6 separate regions of the Homo sapiens genome follow, and regions 1, 3, 4, 5 and 6 are each linked to region 2. Evidence: promoter capture Hi-C in 16 types of primary human blood cells and fetal thymus (Javierre and others, 2016). All regions are on one chromosome and are shown on one strand. The core of a region is centred on a gene start or on the middle of the fragment in contact, and the rest is flanking DNA. Distances in the headings are between cores, read along the strand shown. Region 1 holds the start of OMA1 (OMA1 zinc metallopeptidase). Region 2 holds the start of USP1 (ubiquitin specific peptidase 1). Region 3 overlaps SERBP1 (SERPINE1 mRNA binding protein 1). Region 4 overlaps MIER1 (MIER1 transcriptional regulator). Region 5 overlaps MYSM1 (Myb like, SWIRM and MPN domains 1). Region 6 holds the start of JUN (Jun proto-oncogene, AP-1 transcription factor subunit).

Region 1 (3,149 bases), core at 227-2,726, 3.9 Mb after region 2:
TAGTCATTTTCTTAGTTCCTGAGTGCATAATTGGGAGTACATATTGGGCAGCTGGAGCAATCTCCACATTGGTAAGAAGCTCAGGGTCCTTGGTCTTGAGTTATCATGGTGGGGAAAGCCAATGGGAAGCCTCTGAAGCTGTCCTTCTTTCCAAGTGAAGATAATAAATCAAAACCGATATTTCATCTGAGGGGATAGTGAGATGATGGTGGAGATTAATGTCATAATTAAAGACCTGAAATATACAAGAGTGGTTGGTCATCCCTGCCATATCTCTACTTAACTTGCCAGTCTGGCCCCTTTGGAAATCAGGTGGACCCAGGATAATGACATAATGGCTCTGCGCAGTCCAAAAGGAGCTGGATCAACTGGAAATTCCAGAGAACATCACACCCATCTATTTCACCAATGACATTATGCTAACCAGGCAAGATGAGCAAGAGGTGGCTAGCATGCTGGAAACTTTGGTAAGACATGTGCACTCCAGAGTTTGGGAGATAAACCCTACGAAGACTGAAGGACCTCCTACTTCAGTTTTTAGGGGTCCAGTTGTCAGGGGTTTTCCAGGATATCCCTTTCAAAGTAAAAGGCAAATCATAAAATACACATAAGATAAACGAAACAGTAACTTACACATTTTCCAAAAGAGATACCTAAAATTGTTCATAGTGTTTATGTCCTTTGACATAGTGTTTATGTCCTTTGAGATGTTTTCATTGTGCACAGAGTGTAAACATAATAAACTAATATGAGACCTCACTACTCATCCATCACAATCCAGTGTTTATTTGTACTGGCTTATTTGTACACTTTTATTTATTTGTGTTTATTTGTACACTTTTTTTTAATCGCCTGTCTTTCCTCACTGTGATATAAAGTTCACGAAATTCAGGTCTGTCTTGTTCACTGCTACATCCTTGGCACTTAAAATGTAGTTGATGCTCAAGAAATATGTTTTGGTGAAATGAATGAAACATACTATACACATAATTTTGGAGCCAGCTACTTTAACCTCCAGACACTTAAGATTATACTTCATCTTTCTTAAAATGCGTCCCTCCAAAAATCATATGAAAGCACTGTTCCCATACTCCAAAGACTATTTCTATGAATGCAGATTCAGAACCAGGAAGCCTTCGTCTTTTGGCAGTCTTCGAGTCTCTTCCCTTTTGGCCGGTACTGCCGTAGAGACTACAACGGACACAGCCTTGCGTGGATCATTCTTTAGAGGACCCAACTCACCAAAGACGGGAGAAAGTTGTTCCTAGGCAAGCAGCCCAGCCCAGGGCCATGTCCCGCCTTAAGCCACACGGAGGCGCTAGAGCGCCACAGTCTCCGCGGGGCCCGGGGCAGCTGGGAGAACGACTCTGGGCGGCTGTATTGACTGCCGGGTGTGGGCGGAGCGAAGGGCGCCCCGGCCGGTATGGCGGGCAGGAAGTGCGGGTGCGCGCCTGCGCATAGGTCGGGTCTGCGGTGTCACCGCTTTCGCTTCTGCTTGAGTCAGTCCTCACGGTGACGCTTTTCCCCAGCTTTTCCGAGTAGGATCGTGCCCAGGGGAGGAGGCAGAGTGCGGCAGTGGGGAGGGGGCGGAGCGCAGAGCGCCTGCGGGGGCGCCCGGGCAAGGAGTGGGGATCCTTGGGGATGGGGGTACGGGAGGAGGCGTGGGTGGGCGATAAGGCTGCGTGGAGGGGAGGGGCGGGGGGCGCCGGGGCGGGAGACGGAGGGGATCTGTCCTGGGGGAGCCCGGTTCTCCCCTAGCCTTGCCCGGGGCACGCCGGTGACCCCGTGTGTCTGCCCCGTGGCAGTACTTTCGTGGGCCGCCTGCCCTCCCCCTCAGCCCGCCCTTATCCGCGGCTCCGCTTTCAGAGCAGGGTTTCTCACCCGCGGGGCTTCGGGCTCCTCACCCGGCACCTCTGCCAGAGGGGACCGCCTCCCGGCGCGTCGGGCATTCGTCTCTTTCACCCCTTCCCTCTTCAGGAGAAACTGAACACGTTTTCCAGCCTAAACTCGGCAGGGCAAACCAGAACATTCCCCGTCTAAGCAGTTCCGGGGAGTTTTAACAATTTCCTCGTAAACTCGTCTACAGAACTCACTGTATACTGTTTAAATGTCGCCTGTGTGTGGAGCAACAGTTTTATTGTGCCGTGCAATCCTCAACAAGAAATTGTAGTCCAGGGAGATGAAAATCCCTTATTTGGCATTCAGGCGTTGATCAAGGTCGTGCAACCCTCGCTAAAAGGATTTAGGTTCATCTCCGTCATTCTCAGCCGGGGTGAAGGGGTGTAGTCTGACATTTGGAAGCTTAAGAACCAAGTCTGCTGCCGTCCAATTCTTTTTTAAAGCCTTCCATCATGTGTGTACTTTGCTTGAATGATTATTTTAAAGTACATGTCCTATTTTTGCCAATCTGACAGCTGTTTCCATAGAAACTAGAGAAGAAATAGTCATTTTCAGCAAGAGTTGTTAAAACTGTCTTCCAGGCTTCAGCTGTGAGTGCCAGTGAGTGCTGCACTTGCTCATTCGGAGATGGTACTTAAAGAATTAAGGATCTGAAATGTTCGTAGAGGCTAACAATCCAAATTGTTTAATTTTCTCACATCATTAATTTTGTTATCCTAGAAGTCTGCCAGCTATGTTTGTTGACCTGCCACAGCTCTTTGAAGAGAATATGTCAGCCCTGATTTTTTTTTTTCTTATGTGCTCTGTAGTCTAGTGATTGGCTCCTTGAAAATGCATGAATAGATTTCTTCCCTCATTCTTTACCCTTTCTTCAGGATAAACCGGGTATTACAAAATATCAGGCACTGTTTCTATTCAAAACGACACTTGGTTGTCAGTGATAGAAATGATAATGGTTTTAATTATATATGCGTAGTGTTGGGGCTTTTGCTTATACCTTCTGTGTCAATAGGATTCTTTTAAAATTTTTACACAAGTCATGAGAAATGAGAAGGAGTTTGCTTGTCATGTGCAGAGCTAAGCAGTGTGAATAGATGTGCATAGACATAGAGATGAGAGCTTTCTTTTTCTGTGGGGTGTAAGTAAATCAGGGAGTTTGGAATTTAGGAATGGGTGAAGGAGGGTTGGGGAAGGTGCCTGGAGAAGTAGTAGGAGGGCCTGGTTCGCCATATGAAGGAGTTTGTGGAAGC
Region 2 (2,943 bases), core at 382-2,881:
TTTTCTACATCAGGCCTATTTTTCAGGACATGGGAGGAAAAATTATCTGACTAGAGTATTACCATAAAATTACTTAAAGCCCAAAACTTCAGCAACGAGTTTCAAATTTAAAATGCAGAGTAATAAAATGAACTACACAAGACTCACTCAAATTTCATCCTTAATAAGCATTTCACATGGCTGACACTGATCTAGGAATTCATACTGAACTCAGCACACTGAAACCATTTCTGAGACCCAAATCAGGAAGCACTGGAAAGCTGATCCATCTCTCCATTCTGTCTCCAACTTCACTTACTCTCCTGTCTACCTAATGCTTCTGAGGAAGCGCTGTCTTCTGAATGATAAACCAACCTGCGCTAAGTTCTCAGGGATCGCCAAGCATTAATGATTCTGATAAAAGGTTTTTCTCGAGAGCCAATTTAATGGATGACAGAAACTGGATCTCAAACCGACAGAGTAACCAGACTACACAGAAGGGAAGAATGATTAGGCAGGTGAAATAGCGGATCGTCAGCTTAATCAAAAAACCAAACCTCCTAGCCCCTCAAAGCAAAGCTCACACCGAGAATGTAACATTTTGCCAGGTGCAGTATCTTCCTTGCTATTTCTTGCTCCTGGCTTTCCTTGTAACTGGGGGGCTGTTACATCCAAAATATTTCTCCTGTAACTAAATCAACTTTCGCAGAAAGCACGACGAATCGACCATTATCTGTTGACAGCGTGAACACTCAGTCCCAATAGTTTTAAATTCTTTATAAGATGACACGACTCGATTCCGATTTTTCAACAAAAATCTACAAGGACATCTTCGCCAAGGTTTAAGACACGCGGCGTTCTAAACACTTCTTGAAAAAGTGTAAGTGAAAGAAAATGCGCGGTAAAATTTCGCAATTACCGACACAGGGCAACCTGCGTGGAAACGTTTCTTTCTCCCCATCCTTCACCGCTCTCGGGAACGGAAAGAAAGCTGGAAGGACGAGCAGCGACCAGGCTGCCCGGTCGGGGGAGGCTGGCGGCGGCGTCCTCGGCCCACACCCCCGCGCCGGGCGCCCTCGCCGCGGAGTTGGCCTATTTACGCCCAGCCCGCACCTGCCTTCTCGCGTCCCGGCGGCGGCAAGACAGGCGCCACGCCCGAGGCACACACGGCTCCCCCTGGCAGGTCGACCAGGGTGCGAGGCCAACACGGTCCCGGGGTCTCCCCGGCAGCTCCTCTCCCGCGCCGGCCGAACTTGCCCCCGCGCCCGGGAGCCGGCCCCTCCTCCCAGGCCCTCCTTACCTGGTCATGGCCCAAAGCGAAGTCCGCGGCGGTGACGCCGGCAAGTCCAACCCGAATGAGTGTGGGTGCGACAGGTGAGTCCCTGCCCCGAGCCCGCCGGGTCCCCGGCCCCAGGAAAATCTGGTCGGCTCGCCCTCCCCGCGGGGGAGTGACCATCCGCTCCCAAGAGCGGGAACCCCGACCGCCGCTCGCTCCCGTCTTGCACCAACACCAACTACATCCCGGGAGCGGCGCCCATCTGCGCCCGCCCCGGGAGAGCCAGGAGCGCAACAAGCAGCGGCCCCGCTCGCCGAACGCCTGAACCGCTAGGGTCTTTAGCACTCCGCCACCGAGGGGAACTTGGCGCGTTTTCCTCAGTCTCAGGACCCCCGTGTTTTAGCCTCCGCCCGCGCCAGCGCTGCGATTGAACGTGGCGTCCTTTGAAATTGCCGGTTCCAGTCTCCACGCTGCAGAGACACGAAAGGCAGGAGCCGTCTCGCGACGGCCACTCGCCCCTGGCACGCACGGGCTCCGGAGCCAGCTGGGACTGTAGTTCCCCAAAAGCCTAACGGGTTCCACAGTTTCAAACAACGCAGGCACAGAGCCGGGCAGCTCGTGCGGGTCCTCGCTGAGGGCGCGCGCGAGGTGCTAGCGGCCTGGCTGGCGGGCTCGAGCCTCACACCCTTTTTTTAACCATTCGTGCGCGCGAGTTGAGGGAAAAGCGTACGGGTCGGGAGACGGGACAGAGAGCAGACGGGATGGGCCACCACCTCGAGAAGGAGCCCAAATTCACCAATCCATGATGAACAATCCCCAAAACCGCGCCTCCCACCGCCCGGGGGAAGCCAATCAGAAGTACCTAGACCAAAGCCAATTAGATGGGCGGGAGCAGCAAGCCCATCTAATAGCAAAAAAGAAGAAAGGTGGGCTCCAGCCAATCATTGTTCGACATACGGAGTGTTCCTCAGGCGCGGTGCCCCTCCTTCCGCTCTCATTGGCGCTCGAGTGCGCGCTTTCGCTGCCGACTGTTAAAATCTTGTTTGGCGTTTTGTTAATCCTCGACGGTGGGACGCCGCGGAGGGTGCGGCTTCCGGAGCGAGGCCCTCGCGGTAAGCCCCGCCTCCGTTCGTGCGTACGCGCCCGGGCGGGGTTACCAAGAGAGCAGCTTCGGAAAATGGCTGCCCGGCTGGACGCCGCCGCGCTTGGGCTTTCAGTTCGGAGTCGCGGCCACACTAGGCCTAGGGCCATCCAATGAGACAAGGCGCTGCCACGGATAACAATACATGCTCAGGCGAATGCTGTAGAGCTGAGGCCCGGTCCTCAGCCCCTGCTCGCCTCATTTTCGCCTGTTTACCTCTTCCCTTTCTCGGCCGCAGGAGGAAACGAAAGAACAGTTTCAGGCCCAGCTCCGGCCGCGGGAGCTTCCCAGGGTTCCCGCGCGAGCCCTCCCAAAGGGTTCAGGAGCGGCAGGCAGGCCTCATCTGGTTGTGTGCTTCCTTTTGTGTTTGTGTGCCTGCTTTGGTGAGGTGACCTCAGCTCAAGTGCTGCAGTTAAGCAGGATACGTTCAGCCCAAATCCATTTAATCAAGTATTTTTAAGGTGCCTACTATGTGCCAGGCATTTTTCAAGGCGCGAGGGATGTAAAGGCATTCCCTGTCATAAAGGAGCATTACATTCTGGAGAGG
Region 3 (2,971 bases), core at 104-2,603, 5.0 Mb before region 2:
CCCCGCTGAAAAGCAGGGGGTCGTTCCAGGCCATCAGACGTGTGGAGTAAGCTGCAGGTTGGGGTGCCGCATGTCCTTTATTTGTTTCTCTTCCACCTCTCAACTGTTAGGACTTTCTCATAACTTGCTGGGGTGAGTTGAGCCGTTGGGAAATGGAGGAGTTTGGCCACACTCGATTAACCAGGAGCGGGAATTATGAATGAAGACTGGTGATTGCAGGACATCCCGAGGAACGTCCTCGAGTCACGATCCTCTCTCTCGACTCCCCAAACTGAATCTTTCACGTGGTGGGGTCTGGGCCTCGTGGGTGAAGTGAGTGCAGAGGCTGTCACAGCGTTAGTCGCAGCAGAGCTCTTTAGAGTTCGCAGTTTTTTTTTTCCACCACATGTGCGTGAAGCATGGTCAGAGTTTCACTGGCGGTTAATAGTTGTTTCTAGGGCACTGTGAGTTTCACAGGATTGTCTTGATTTTTGCATTCGCTTTACCAGTTTGTTGCGGATGAAAAAAAAGAGCAAGCAGTTTGGAGATAAGAACGTGCATGATCAATAGCAAGCAGGTGTTGGACCTAAGGTCTGAATCTTTAAAGCTGCATTTATATGTTGAAAGTTGAAATTACCCCTTCCTGCCACGTGCTTCTCTGAAAGGAGTTGTTTCTCTTTAGCTTTAGTTGAATTCTGTAACAGTGAACTAATTTTAAAAATCAAAACAATTTTCTCGTGGTAGGATTTGTTTTAGGAGGGTTTTTTTTTTTTTTTTTGAGGACTTTTGTGAGGCTCGGAATGAAGAACCTCGGTCCTAGGTGGTGAATAAAAGAAAATAATTAATTCTTGTGGTAAAATTATAGGTTGAGGAAAAATACAGTTGGAGTATTAGAAAGCATGTATATCACTTAGGCCAAGTATCTCTTCAGCCAGTTAAGCTTTATGGCAATCTAGCACAATTAAATAAATCATTTAATTCGTGTGTTAAGTAACGCTGACTTGTGTAATTATTTAAACTATGCTTAAGCTTAAGAAAGTACACGAAAAAGTTGAATCTGACGAATAATGTGTACCAGGTAGATGTGTTCACTCATTTTGAATGTTCAAAACATGAAGCATGGTTTAAATGCCTGAGTTATTTTGATCATGAAGCCCATCTATGAAATAAGCTCTTACCTGAAAAGTAGTATTTTAAGTTAACAAATGTGGGGAATGATTTCATGAAGTTAGAACCAAGACTTAGGTTCACCGTTCAATGAGTCTTTCCATGGGAAAACTATTCCATGTTAGCAATCAGCATTTTCCTTAGGTCAGTATTTCAGAGCACTACTGTTAAGTTGCATAAAATACAAGCATGTAAAATACAGGAAAAGTGTTGAATGGACAATACCCGTTTTGAGATTCTACTGTCCTGATTACTGGGAATAAATCTGTAAACAAAGTCGCTGCATGTAGTAGGAAGGTTAACCTGATTGTGTTCTGTGATTTTGATAACACATTGTGACATAATACTTGACATACTTTAGACAGATATTTAATGTTTATGTTTTATGAATTAATTTTGTACATTCTCTTGCCCATTTGAAGAACTTGAGAATTGACAGCAGAATGTCATTGAGAGTGTAGACCAGGGATTTTCTAAAAAAGAATGAATGCCTTGAAACTAGTGCAGTTAGTGAGCTTGCAAGTTATAGATAAGTATATCAAAAGAAGCTTGCATTTTTAAATGTCAGTCTTTTTCATTAGGTAGGTTTAATACGTTTTTAAGATTCTGTAAACTTGATATTGGGTGGGGACGCCAACTATTGTTCACTTGGGTGTGTTTGGCTTGGATATTATTGCAAGGACTGGTTCCATAACTCCACCCCAGTGCACTTTATTACTGATGACATTTATTTAAATACCTTGGTGTAAGGTCTAATATTTGTAGTCTATCTTGAGTATTTACAGGGAATGAACTTCAAAATTCTATTGAAGAGATTGATAGTTACTGTTTGGCTCCAGTTAACAGGCAGCAGAACAACTGGGTGTGTCTTGATGGTGTTCTACTTTCTTAGAAAGAACCAAAGTGAAGCAGCTTAAAATCTTGTAAAACCAATTCCTCAGCTGCTTTATGACTTTGTCAGAAATTGGGAATTAGAGCATACCAACAATCTTAAAGTCATTAATTTAACCATCAATCTGTTGATCCTTATGGGCACCAATAATTTAAATTGGTTGCCTTTGTGGGGTTTCAGACATTACAGGAAAAAAGTAGTAAAGGGGGAAATTAGTAAATGCTTCAGCTATCACTTAGTGTCACAAGTTTTCTTATTTCTTACATGTTGCTTAAAAGCGGTCTTAACGTGTGTGTATTTGGTTTTTAAAGATTCTTTGAAAATAAAGATAGTTGTTAGGGCAAATTTTTTAGAGGACTCTCTCCATGCATAATAAGTAACTGTTTCCTAACTTGGAAGTACTTAGGGATGTGGGAGTGTGTACAAACATATATACACTTACATGCTATAAAATTTTAAACTTTAATAGGGGAAGATGGCCCTTTTTGTGTGCCTGTAGCTAAGAAGACCAAAAGATGACACTTTTTCTGGTTAAATGGCTGTTTTAAACTGAAGTGATGTTCTCTAATAATCCTAAATGCCATATTTTCCTTTCAGATTTGTAATTTTATAGAATTATGAGTCTTAATTGCATTTTTTTTTCAGATTAGATAGAATAACATAGTGCGGCCCTCACTTTTGTGAGGGGCCATATCTAGTGAGTGTGTTGATTTGCTTGGTTATTTATGAATGGCTGCTGGTATTTTCTTTGGTATTTTAAAAGCCAAAATGTATTGCTTGCCTAAAATTTTTTAAATTTAAAAGTTTTTATTAAGAGACTATCTTGGAAAGTGACGGGAATAATGGTTGCCCAAATGATTTCCAAGTCAGTTATAGAAAATGCTTTTGAGGGGGAGAACTTGGCAAACTTAAATAGAAGTTTAAAATAAGTTT
Region 4 (3,075 bases), core at 146-2,645, 4.5 Mb before region 2:
ACTATGACTCCATTAAAAATAGAGATATCTGTTTGTGTTGATAGAGAAATAAATGCCAAAAAAAATTAGGAGTATAAAGAAAACTGTAGAACAGGGCGTAAACTGGGCTGGAATATGAAATAATATGGAATAAATTTTTTTTCCTCAAAAGGACATACAAGAACCTGTTAACAATAGTTACCTCTAGGGAATGGGGTCAGGGAGAAGAGGCTTTTTTCATTTAATACCTTTCTGTACTGTTGAAATTTTCTAACCACTTTCATGTACTATGCATTCTTTCTTAAAATGAAAGTCACTGGGAACTGATTATCTTGTGGAATTATGAGACATTTTCATTTTCTTCCTCTAAATTTTGATTTTTAAGAAAACCTAGTACTTGTTACTATTTTTTAAGCTGTAATTTTGAAAAATTCAGTGTTTTAGGGGGTACATATTTATCTTATCTGAGATGGAAAACAACACTAGAGAGACAGAAAGACTGTACACAGAGTATGAATGGGCTAAAACAAATTAAAAACAAACTCTAGCAACTTTTATAGCAAGTTGACCCTCACCCACATATTTGTATGATTTAGTTGATAAAATTGCTAATAGTTGTAACGAATATTCAATGCCTCAGATTTGCTGAAATAATTCTCTTTTATATTTTTCTAGAACATGGTGGGAAATGTCCCATACAACAGAAGACTATAATTTGAGAGAGAGTAAAGAAATAACTAACTACAACATTACCATTATTTTCACCAAAAAAACCCTAACAACAACATAGTAAAAACATGAAGTAATTACTAGATTTTTTTATTCCAGGCAATCAAAAGCTTATTTGCAATGAGTATTACCGTCTGAACAAATTTTTCCCCTCAAAACAATTCTACCACCATTTCTTTTAAGTATTGCCGTCATCTACTTAGTTATGTAGACTCTAAGTCAGAGATTCTCACAGCAATGGAGATGGGGATAGAAGCCTGGAAAGAGGGGTCCTACTTTAGGGTGAAAGATGGTTACCGTGCCAAGGGCTGGCTCACCATCCCTCTCCTCCAATAAAATTAAGTTACTTAACTTTGTTATTACTCTCAGGAATTCTGGGGTATAAAAAGGTTAAGAATGTACTGAAATTAAAATTAGCAATTTACTACAGTATTAATAATTCAGAAGTAAAATGATATCATAGAAAATAAGGACTGGGAACAGTGGCACACGCCTATAATCCCAGCACAAGACAGGAGGATCACTTAAGGCCAGAAGCTCGAGACCAGTCTGATCAACATATCGAGACCCTGTCTCCACAAAAAAAAAAAAAAGCCGGGCATGATGGCACATGCCTATAGTCCCAGCTACTTGAGAGGCTCTGAGGGAAGGATTGATCACCTGAGCCCAGGAGTTTGAGGTTGTAGTGAGCTATGATTTGCGCCACTGCACTCCAGCCTGGGCAACAGAGAGAGACCCTGTCTCAAAAAAAAAAAAAAAAGAAAGAAAGAAAAAGAAAATAAGCACTAGGAATCTAGGAATACAGAAGGCTGGGTTCCAGTCTAAACTGTGCCATAGATGAATTGCACGACCTAGGACAAACTACGTAAACTCTCTGCTCACTTTCATTTTCTCTATGATCAAAAGATTTAGATTTCTTCAAGACCTAACTTTACTTTTATTATAAATTGCTCTAGAAACCTAACACTACTAAGGAGTATGCAGCTAAATGCATGGGATATGTTTAAATTTATTTTTTTAAATCTAGGACTGTTAAAAAAATCTCAATTTGCAAAAACAATTTTTTGGGGTGCTACTTCATGAATTTCATACCTACATAATAAGTTATTGTTCTAAGCCACAGAATAAGACAAACAGAACAAGCCCCAAGCAATGACTGGTACTTGAACAATTTAATCACTGCAATGAATTTTGAATGAACATCAAGCCAGGCAGGCATTTCTAGATAGCTGATTACTTTTCATAAAGACATGCTTAAGCTTCAATGGCAGTGTTTTATTTCTGAATTATTTAGAAAACTGGTTAGTCTCACTTACCAGAATTATCTTAAAGTAATTCACTTGTTTCTCCCACCAAACCTTTCCCACCTATTAAAGTACCCTAACTCTTAACTGCCAATGAATTAAGATTTTTAGGACTCTCACGCACTGGTGATCTTGACTACTTTTAAAATCTTAATAGCTCTGAAGTATAAACATGAAAAAAAATTCATTATTAGTGTCGAGAATTATTTGAAGCTTAAATTCACTGCAGTGAAACACATTTTGCTTAGAGTAGAAATTAATGTTTTCATAAGTAACATTTAACATAATCCTTCGTTAAAAAAATCCAAATACACTCAAAAAATACTAAGCAAGGAGTCCATTTTAAAGAGAAATGGATAGGTGTGAAAGTGAATAAACAGATTATATACCCTCTTTGAAAGTACTAAAATACTTAAATAGAAAGAAGCAAATCCATTAATTTTCTCTTTATATCACAGAAATGTGGCCTAGGTGAAAAGACAGGTCTTGAATTGTCCATGGATTTTTTTCCTTGAGAAGAAAGTCCCTTACGTGTTTACAAACGCTAAAATACAAGACAAATTGTTCGTTCCCAAAGGTCCCTAGTACATTCCTTATAAAACCCAAAGGATTAACTATTTCTTCCTCTCATTTTTTCTCTCATTTTCCTCTTATTTTTGCAGTTAGTAAAACTGCAACTATCCTGTAATTTCCTTCAAGTGTGACTAGGAGAGCGTCCTTTTAGAAGGTTGGTAAATAATTTTAAGGGATAATAAGCAATGAGAAATATTGCCAAAAAGTATTAAGCAAGGGAGCATATGCTATTTATTCTAAGTACATTAAATACGGCTTTAATGTTATCACAACTGAAGAACCAATATATACTTCCTATTATGGACTAAGATAATCAGATCAAATATAAAAAATTAGTATATCCTATTCTCATCTAAAGCACTTTCTATTCAAGAATTAAATATTTTTCTGGAAAAACATGGTCAGGGTCATGCTCTTGTAGGAAGCATCAATTTTTTTTTTTAAAAGCCCAGAAGCATAATACCTACATTTTTCTCTGGAGACATACTTC
Region 5 (2,836 bases), core at 252-2,751, 3.7 Mb after region 2:
AGAAAGCCTGAGTTCTAAAGTCAGCCAGCTATGTTGTTTATAATTATGTACAATTTCCTTAGAACTGTATTAGCTTGAACCATATGAAATTGCCAATATTTAGACCATTTTTGTTCTATAAAGCGGCAACTTCATGTAGTTCAGCCTAATATTAGGGCCTCTGTGAACAGGGGAGAAGTACTAACCCAGCGCTTGAGGCACTAAGATAGTGTGTTTAGAAGTGTATCATGAACTCTAAAGCCCTATAAAGACGTGAGGGGTGATTAAACTCATATGGTCATTGTCCCTCAAAGCTTTGCAGATGAGTAGGGAGCCCTTAATAACAATACTTGTTGACATTCATTTAGTGTTTAAATCTTGACCAAGTGCTTTTGCATGTTTGATTTAATTTACTTTTCGCAACAAGTTAATGAAATAGGTTGGCAGGGATACTTATCTGCAGTCTAGAAAGAAATGAGCTGGCCTTGGAAACACTGAAGATTGGTCACCTGAGGGCATTGGCTGTATGCTTCTTCCATAGATTTATCTTTCTGATTGTGTTTCATTTTTCCCCTTTTCTCTTTCTTCCTATTTTAGTTGAGGCCTAGGTCTACTGGTGGCACTTGTGGTAACAAGCAGGATTACAAAGGTTATTGGTTCCTGATGATGGTTACAATTATTGTCTTATACAACCCCAAGGAGTATCATTAATATTATATTCTGGGCCAGGCATGGTGGCTCACGCCTGTAATCCCAGCACTTTGGGAGACCGAGGCGGGCAGATCACGAGGTCAGGAGATCGAGACCATCCTGGCTAACACGGTGAAACCCCATCTCTACTAAAAATACAAAAAATTAGCTGGGCGTGGTGGTGGGCGCCTGTAGTCCCAGGTACTTGGGAGGCTGAGGCAGGAGAATGGCGTGAACCCGGGAGGCAGAGCTTGCAGTGAGCGGAGATCACGCCACCGCACTCCAGCCTGGGCAACAGAGCGAGACTCTGTCTCAAAAAAAAAAAAAAAATATATATATATATATATAGTCTGATAAATAGTGTCCAGTGGTGTTGGAGCTCCAACCGTATGGAATTTAGTGTGATGGTACTCTCTGAAGTATGTAGTTACAGTTGATATTATAGCATCTGTGAAACCGTTGAGAATTAATTTAATAGACACTTTTAAGCACTTGGTAAGTGCTAGATGTCAAAGTTAGAAGATGGTATTGAAACTTTTGGGTTGGCTGGGTGCGGTGGCTCATGCCTGTAATCCCAGCACTTTGGGAGGCCAAGGCGGGCGGATCACCTGAGGTTGGGAGTTCGAGATCAGCCTGACCAACATGGAGAAACCCCGTCTCTACTAAAAATACAAACTTAGCCAGGCATGGTGGCACCTGCCTGTAATTGCAGCTACTAGGGAGGCTGAGGCAGGAGAATTGCTTGACCCTGGGAGGTGAAGGTTGCAGTGAGCCGAGATCGCGCCATTGCCCTCTAGCCTGGGCAACAAGAGCAAAACGCCATCTCAAAAAAAAAAAAAAATTTTTTTTTGGTTTCTCTTCTACTTCTACCATTCTGTCTCATTCTCCTTTTCTTATGTTCTTTACTCCTAGTGTTGCAAGGAGTTTTCTCATTGGACTTTGATTCACTGACCACACTGTCCCTCTTAAGACTTCAACTTCTCTTTGTTAGGTTGAACCATATGAAATTTTACCAGTGTTAAACCATTTTTGACCTGCCAGCTGATGTTTCCCGAATCTGTTACCAACCCAGATCTCTCTCTTAAGTGACAGATCCATTTATCCAGTTCTCTGAATCTATCTGTACCTGGATGTCTCACAAGCACCTCAGTTTCACCTTATAAATTTTCCCCACCAGATCTCTTCACTGTACCCTAGTTTAGTAAATGGCACCTACACACACCCAGTCACCCAAAGCACAGACCTAAACTTCATCATTCCTTACCTCCCTCCTTCTACTCCTCTACCCTATCAGTTATTTAGGGCTGTTGATTCTGTCTAAATATCTTCTCAACTGTATTCACTTCTTCCTGTTCACATTGTCCTGTAGCTATAAGTTATTGTCACCTTTCTCTAGTATTTTTAAAATCTCTCCCTCTTAACTGCTCCTCGTCTCCTTGGCCCCATTCTGTTCTAGTCTGAAGTCAGAGTAATCTTTCTTATATCCAGATCTGATCATATTATTCTCTTCACTCCCCAGTTGGTTTTTTGATAAAATCCTCATTCTTTAACTACCAGAGATCTGAGTGATCCACGCCCTACCTACCTTGTTCATTTAGTCCAACAAATTTTTATTGAGTACCTTCTACATGCCATGCACTGATATACAACAGTGTATCAAAACCAAGTCTGTGCTCTCATAGAACATTCTTGTTAGATAACATAGACAGCAATCCTATATATATGTCAGATGGAGATGGGTGGAGAAAGATAAAGGAGGGGAGGTGAATGGTTTGTCAGCTTTATCTTTTACATTTATCCAGGAAAATTATATAAGATTGGAAACTACAGGACCTCAGAGGTAGTATGAAAATACTGGAAGGACTGGATTTGGAAAATGGGAGAAACAGCAGAATTAGGGCAGATTAAATGGGGGTTGTGAAGAAAATGGTCAGGCTTGGATTTCTGGCTTGGATAACTACGGAGATGGTGGTGCCACTGAGTGAGATGGTGAACAATAGAAGAGTAGCAGATTTGGGAGGAAAGGTGATTTCAAGCTTTAAACATGCTAATATGTGGTACCTATGGAGATTCAGGTAGAGATCCAGAAGTAGCTACCAGAGTATGAGTGTTGCTGATTCTTCTTATTGAGGAATAAAAAGATTTCTACAGTGAATTTGAAATGATA
Region 6 (2,814 bases), core at 274-2,773, 3.7 Mb after region 2:
TGGCCACCACCTCCCTAGTGCTGCAGGCGACCCTGTCACACTAACTCCTGGCAGCCCAGTGAGGTGGACGGCACCGGCCCCACCTGCAGATGAGGGAAATGAAGCTCGGAGGAGTTCCGTGATTTGCTTGCTTCACACTGTGGTAGCCTGGCCACGAAAGAACCAGGATTCCCGACTTCGGGATTCTTTCCACCACACACTTTCGTCCCTAAGGGGTGGGGGGCGGGGGGAGAATAAAATAACCGCGGAAAAGGAACCACTTACATGTGTCTAGCGCTTCCTAGAGGCTACCCAGGATATGCGCCCACCACCCGGCCGGGAGTGCAGAGATTTGAAGTCCAGGTTCTACCCCGGGCTCCGAGTACTACTGCGTGACTTTATGCGAGTGTCCGCCGCCTTCTGGGCTTGTTTTCCCGGAAGCAACTCGGCGCGGATGGAGTGTGTGTGTGCGCGCGCGCGCGCGTTATGTTGTGCGTGTTGTGTTAAGCGTGTGCGTGTTGTCCGGGGGCGGGAGGGGGAGTAGACTAACACCGGGGTTCCCCGAGTTTCGGATCGCCTACACGCTTGTTCCCATCTGGACCCTGTTACCCACCAATTGCGCCCACTATAAAAACTGCCCCTCCGAGGCAAAGCTGTGAACCCCCGCGCCCTTTCCCCCACGGTCCCGGAGGATGAAGTGGGGTGCAACGGAGACTCAGCTGAGCGTCCAGTTTCGGGCAATACAAATCTCTCGGCTTCTACGAGCAGCCAGACGACCCCGCGGACCGTCGCTCCTGAACTTGACCGAGATGCAAACTTCGGAGTGTTCTCAACGTGGGGGGCCGACTCTCGGGAGACCGCCCCTAAACTTAAGTCCCCTTAGGCTCGCCCCCACCTGGGACTTCACAGAGCCACCTTAAGGGCGGTATTCCCGCCCCCCCGGAAGTGCGGGGGGGTGGCAGCGTACTTGGATTCTCAGCCTCCAGCCCCGCGCGGTGGCGGCCGCCGGTGGATGACTTCGGGCCCCACAAGTGGGGAAACAACAACCACCCCTCGCCCGCACCCCTGGCCCAAAACAACTGGCCAGGTTCCCTGGCCTCCCGGGTCCCTGCATCCCCCGCATCCCCGTCCGCAGCCGTGAACTTGAGCCCCCCTCCATCAGAGGTTGCGAGCGTCCGCCCGCTCGCGGCAGCCACCGTCACTAGACAGTCAAACCCCAAGACGTCAGCCCACAATGCACCGGGCGGGCCGGGAAAAACGGCCCGGGGAGGGGACCGGGGAAGAGAGGGCCGAGAGGCGTGCGGCAGGGGGGAGGGTAGGAGAAAGAAGGGCCCGACTGTAGGAGGGCAGCGGAGCATTACCTCATCCCGTGAGCCTCCGCGGGCCCAGAGAAGAATCTTCTAGGGTGGAGTCTCCATGGTGACGGGCGGGCCCGCCCCCCTGAGAGCGACGCGAGCCAATGGGAAGGCCTTGGGGTGACATCATGGGCTATTTTTAGGGGTTGACTGGTAGCAGATAAGTGTTGAGCTCGGGCTGGATAAGGGCTCAGAGTTGCACTGAGTGTGGCTGAAGCAGCGAGGCGGGAGTGGAGGTGCGCGGAGTCAGGCAGACAGACAGACACAGCCAGCCAGCCAGGTCGGCAGTATAGTCCGAACTGCAAATCTTATTTTCTTTTCACCTTCTCTCTAACTGCCCAGAGCTAGCGCCTGTGGCTCCCGGGCTGGTGTTTCGGGAGTGTCCAGAGAGCCTGGTCTCCAGCCGCCCCCGGGAGGAGAGCCCTGCTGCCCAGGCGCTGTTGACAGCGGCGGAAAGCAGCGGTACCCACGCGCCCGCCGGGGGAAGTCGGCGAGCGGCTGCAGCAGCAAAGAACTTTCCCGGCTGGGAGGACCGGAGACAAGTGGCAGAGTCCCGGAGCCAACTTTTGCAAGCCTTTCCTGCGTCTTAGGCTTCTCCACGGCGGTAAAGACCAGAAGGCGGCGGAGAGCCACGCAAGAGAAGAAGGACGTGCGCTCAGCTTCGCTCGCACCGGTTGTTGAACTTGGGCGAGCGCGAGCCGCGGCTGCCGGGCGCCCCCTCCCCCTAGCAGCGGAGGAGGGGACAAGTCGTCGGAGTCCGGGCGGCCAAGACCCGCCGCCGGCCGGCCACTGCAGGGTCCGCACTGATCCGCTCCGCGGGGAGAGCCGCTGCTCTGGGAAGTGAGTTCGCCTGCGGACTCCGAGGAACCGCTGCGCACGAAGAGCGCTCAGTGAGTGACCGCGACTTTTCAAAGCCGGGTAGCGCGCGCGAGTCGACAAGTAAGAGTGCGGGAGGCATCTTAATTAACCCTGCGCTCCCTGGAGCGAGCTGGTGAGGAGGGCGCAGCGGGGACGACAGCCAGCGGGTGCGTGCGCTCTTAGAGAAACTTTCCCTGTCAAAGGCTCCGGGGGGCGCGGGTGTCCCCCGCTTGCCACAGCCCTGTTGCGGCCCCGAAACTTGTGCGCGCAGCCCAAACTAACCTCACGTGAAGTGACGGACTGTTCTATGACTGCAAAGATGGAAACGACCTTCTATGACGATGCCCTCAACGCCTCGTTCCTCCCGTCCGAGAGCGGACCTTATGGCTACAGTAACCCCAAGATCCTGAAACAGAGCATGACCCTGAACCTGGCCGACCCAGTGGGGAGCCTGAAGCCGCACCTCCGCGCCAAGAACTCGGACCTCCTCACCTCGCCCGACGTGGGGCTGCTCAAGCTGGCGTCGCCCGAGCTGGAGCGCCTGATAATCCAGTCCAGCAACGGGCACATCACCACCACGCCGACCCCCACCCAGTTCCTGTGCCCCAAGAACGTGACAGAT

Evidence for each region. The method cuts DNA at HindIII sites, captures the fragments that hold promoters and counts their contacts. A CHiCAGO score of 5 or more calls a contact.
Region 1: the fragment with the promoter of OMA1 here is called in contact with the fragment with the promoter of USP1 in region 2 in 1 of 17 cell types (total B cells); the score reaches 6.1 in total B cells.
Region 3: a contact is called between a fragment that was not itself captured here and the fragment with the promoter of USP1 in region 2, in 8 of 17 cell types (non-activated CD4 T cells, naive CD4 T cells, total CD4 T cells and 5 more). The highest score is 8.1, in non-activated CD4 T cells.
Region 4: a contact is called between a fragment that was not itself captured here and the fragment with the promoter of USP1 in region 2, in 2 of 17 cell types (fetal thymus and neutrophils). The highest score is 8.2, in fetal thymus.
Region 5: a contact is called between a fragment that was not itself captured here and the fragment with the promoter of USP1 in region 2, in 2 of 17 cell types (naive CD4 T cells and total CD8 T cells). The highest score is 6.5, in naive CD4 T cells.
Region 6: a contact is called between the fragment with the promoter of JUN here and the fragment with the promoter of USP1 in region 2, in 1 of 17 cell types (total CD8 T cells). The highest score is 6.4, in total CD8 T cells.

The regions. Positions count from the first base shown.
Region 1 is chr1:58,545,053-58,548,201 of GRCh38, reverse strand. OMA1 (OMA1 zinc metallopeptidase) reads left to right here and starts at 1,476. Exons shown (of 9, transcript NM_145243.5): 1 at 1,476-1,499. It also overlaps a transcript of DAB1 not described here. RefSeq lists enhancers at 1,038-1,227, 1,441-2,067 and silencers at 1,628-1,727, 1,738-1,827. The HindIII fragment of the contact is 5,811 bases long and covers 1-2,303 here.
Region 2 is chr1:62,435,737-62,438,679 of GRCh38, reverse strand. USP1 (ubiquitin specific peptidase 1) reads right to left here and starts at 1,631. Exons shown (of 9, transcript NM_003368.5): 1 at 1,280-1,631. RefSeq lists a silencer at 975-1,034 and enhancers at 1,735-1,804, 1,629-2,396, 2,365-2,714, 2,397-2,943. The HindIII fragment of the contact is 3,360 bases long and covers 1-2,943 here.
Region 3 is chr1:67,426,522-67,429,492 of GRCh38, reverse strand. All of the region lies in intron 1 of SERBP1 (SERPINE1 mRNA binding protein 1), which reads left to right. Among named protein-coding and RNA genes, the nearest start is that of SERBP1, 2.4 kb to the left of the region's middle. RefSeq lists an enhancer at 1-554. The HindIII fragment of the contact is 686 bases long and covers 1,011-1,696 here.
Region 4 is chr1:66,932,799-66,935,873 of GRCh38, reverse strand. The region is part of intron 2 of MIER1 (MIER1 transcriptional regulator); the gene reads right to left. Among named protein-coding and RNA genes, the nearest start is that of MIER1, 9.3 kb to the right of the region's middle. The HindIII fragment of the contact is 1,149 bases long and covers 821-1,969 here.
Region 5 is chr1:58,696,266-58,699,101 of GRCh38, reverse strand. All of the region lies in intron 1 of MYSM1 (Myb like, SWIRM and MPN domains 1), which reads left to right. Among named protein-coding and RNA genes, the nearest start is that of MYSM1, 2.4 kb to the left of the region's middle. The HindIII fragment of the contact is 2,412 bases long and covers 296-2,707 here.
Region 6 is chr1:58,782,756-58,785,569 of GRCh38, reverse strand. It overlaps JUN (Jun proto-oncogene, AP-1 transcription factor subunit), which reads left to right and starts at 1,523. Exons shown (of 1, transcript NM_002228.4): 1 at 1,523-2,814. The coding sequence starts at 2,500. JUN-DT (JUN divergent transcript) reads right to left here and starts at 419. Exons shown (of 2, transcript NR_108106.1): 1 at 265-419. RefSeq lists enhancers at 332-1,077, 1,304-1,563, 1,078-1,825. The HindIII fragment of the contact is 7,855 bases long and covers 1-2,814 here.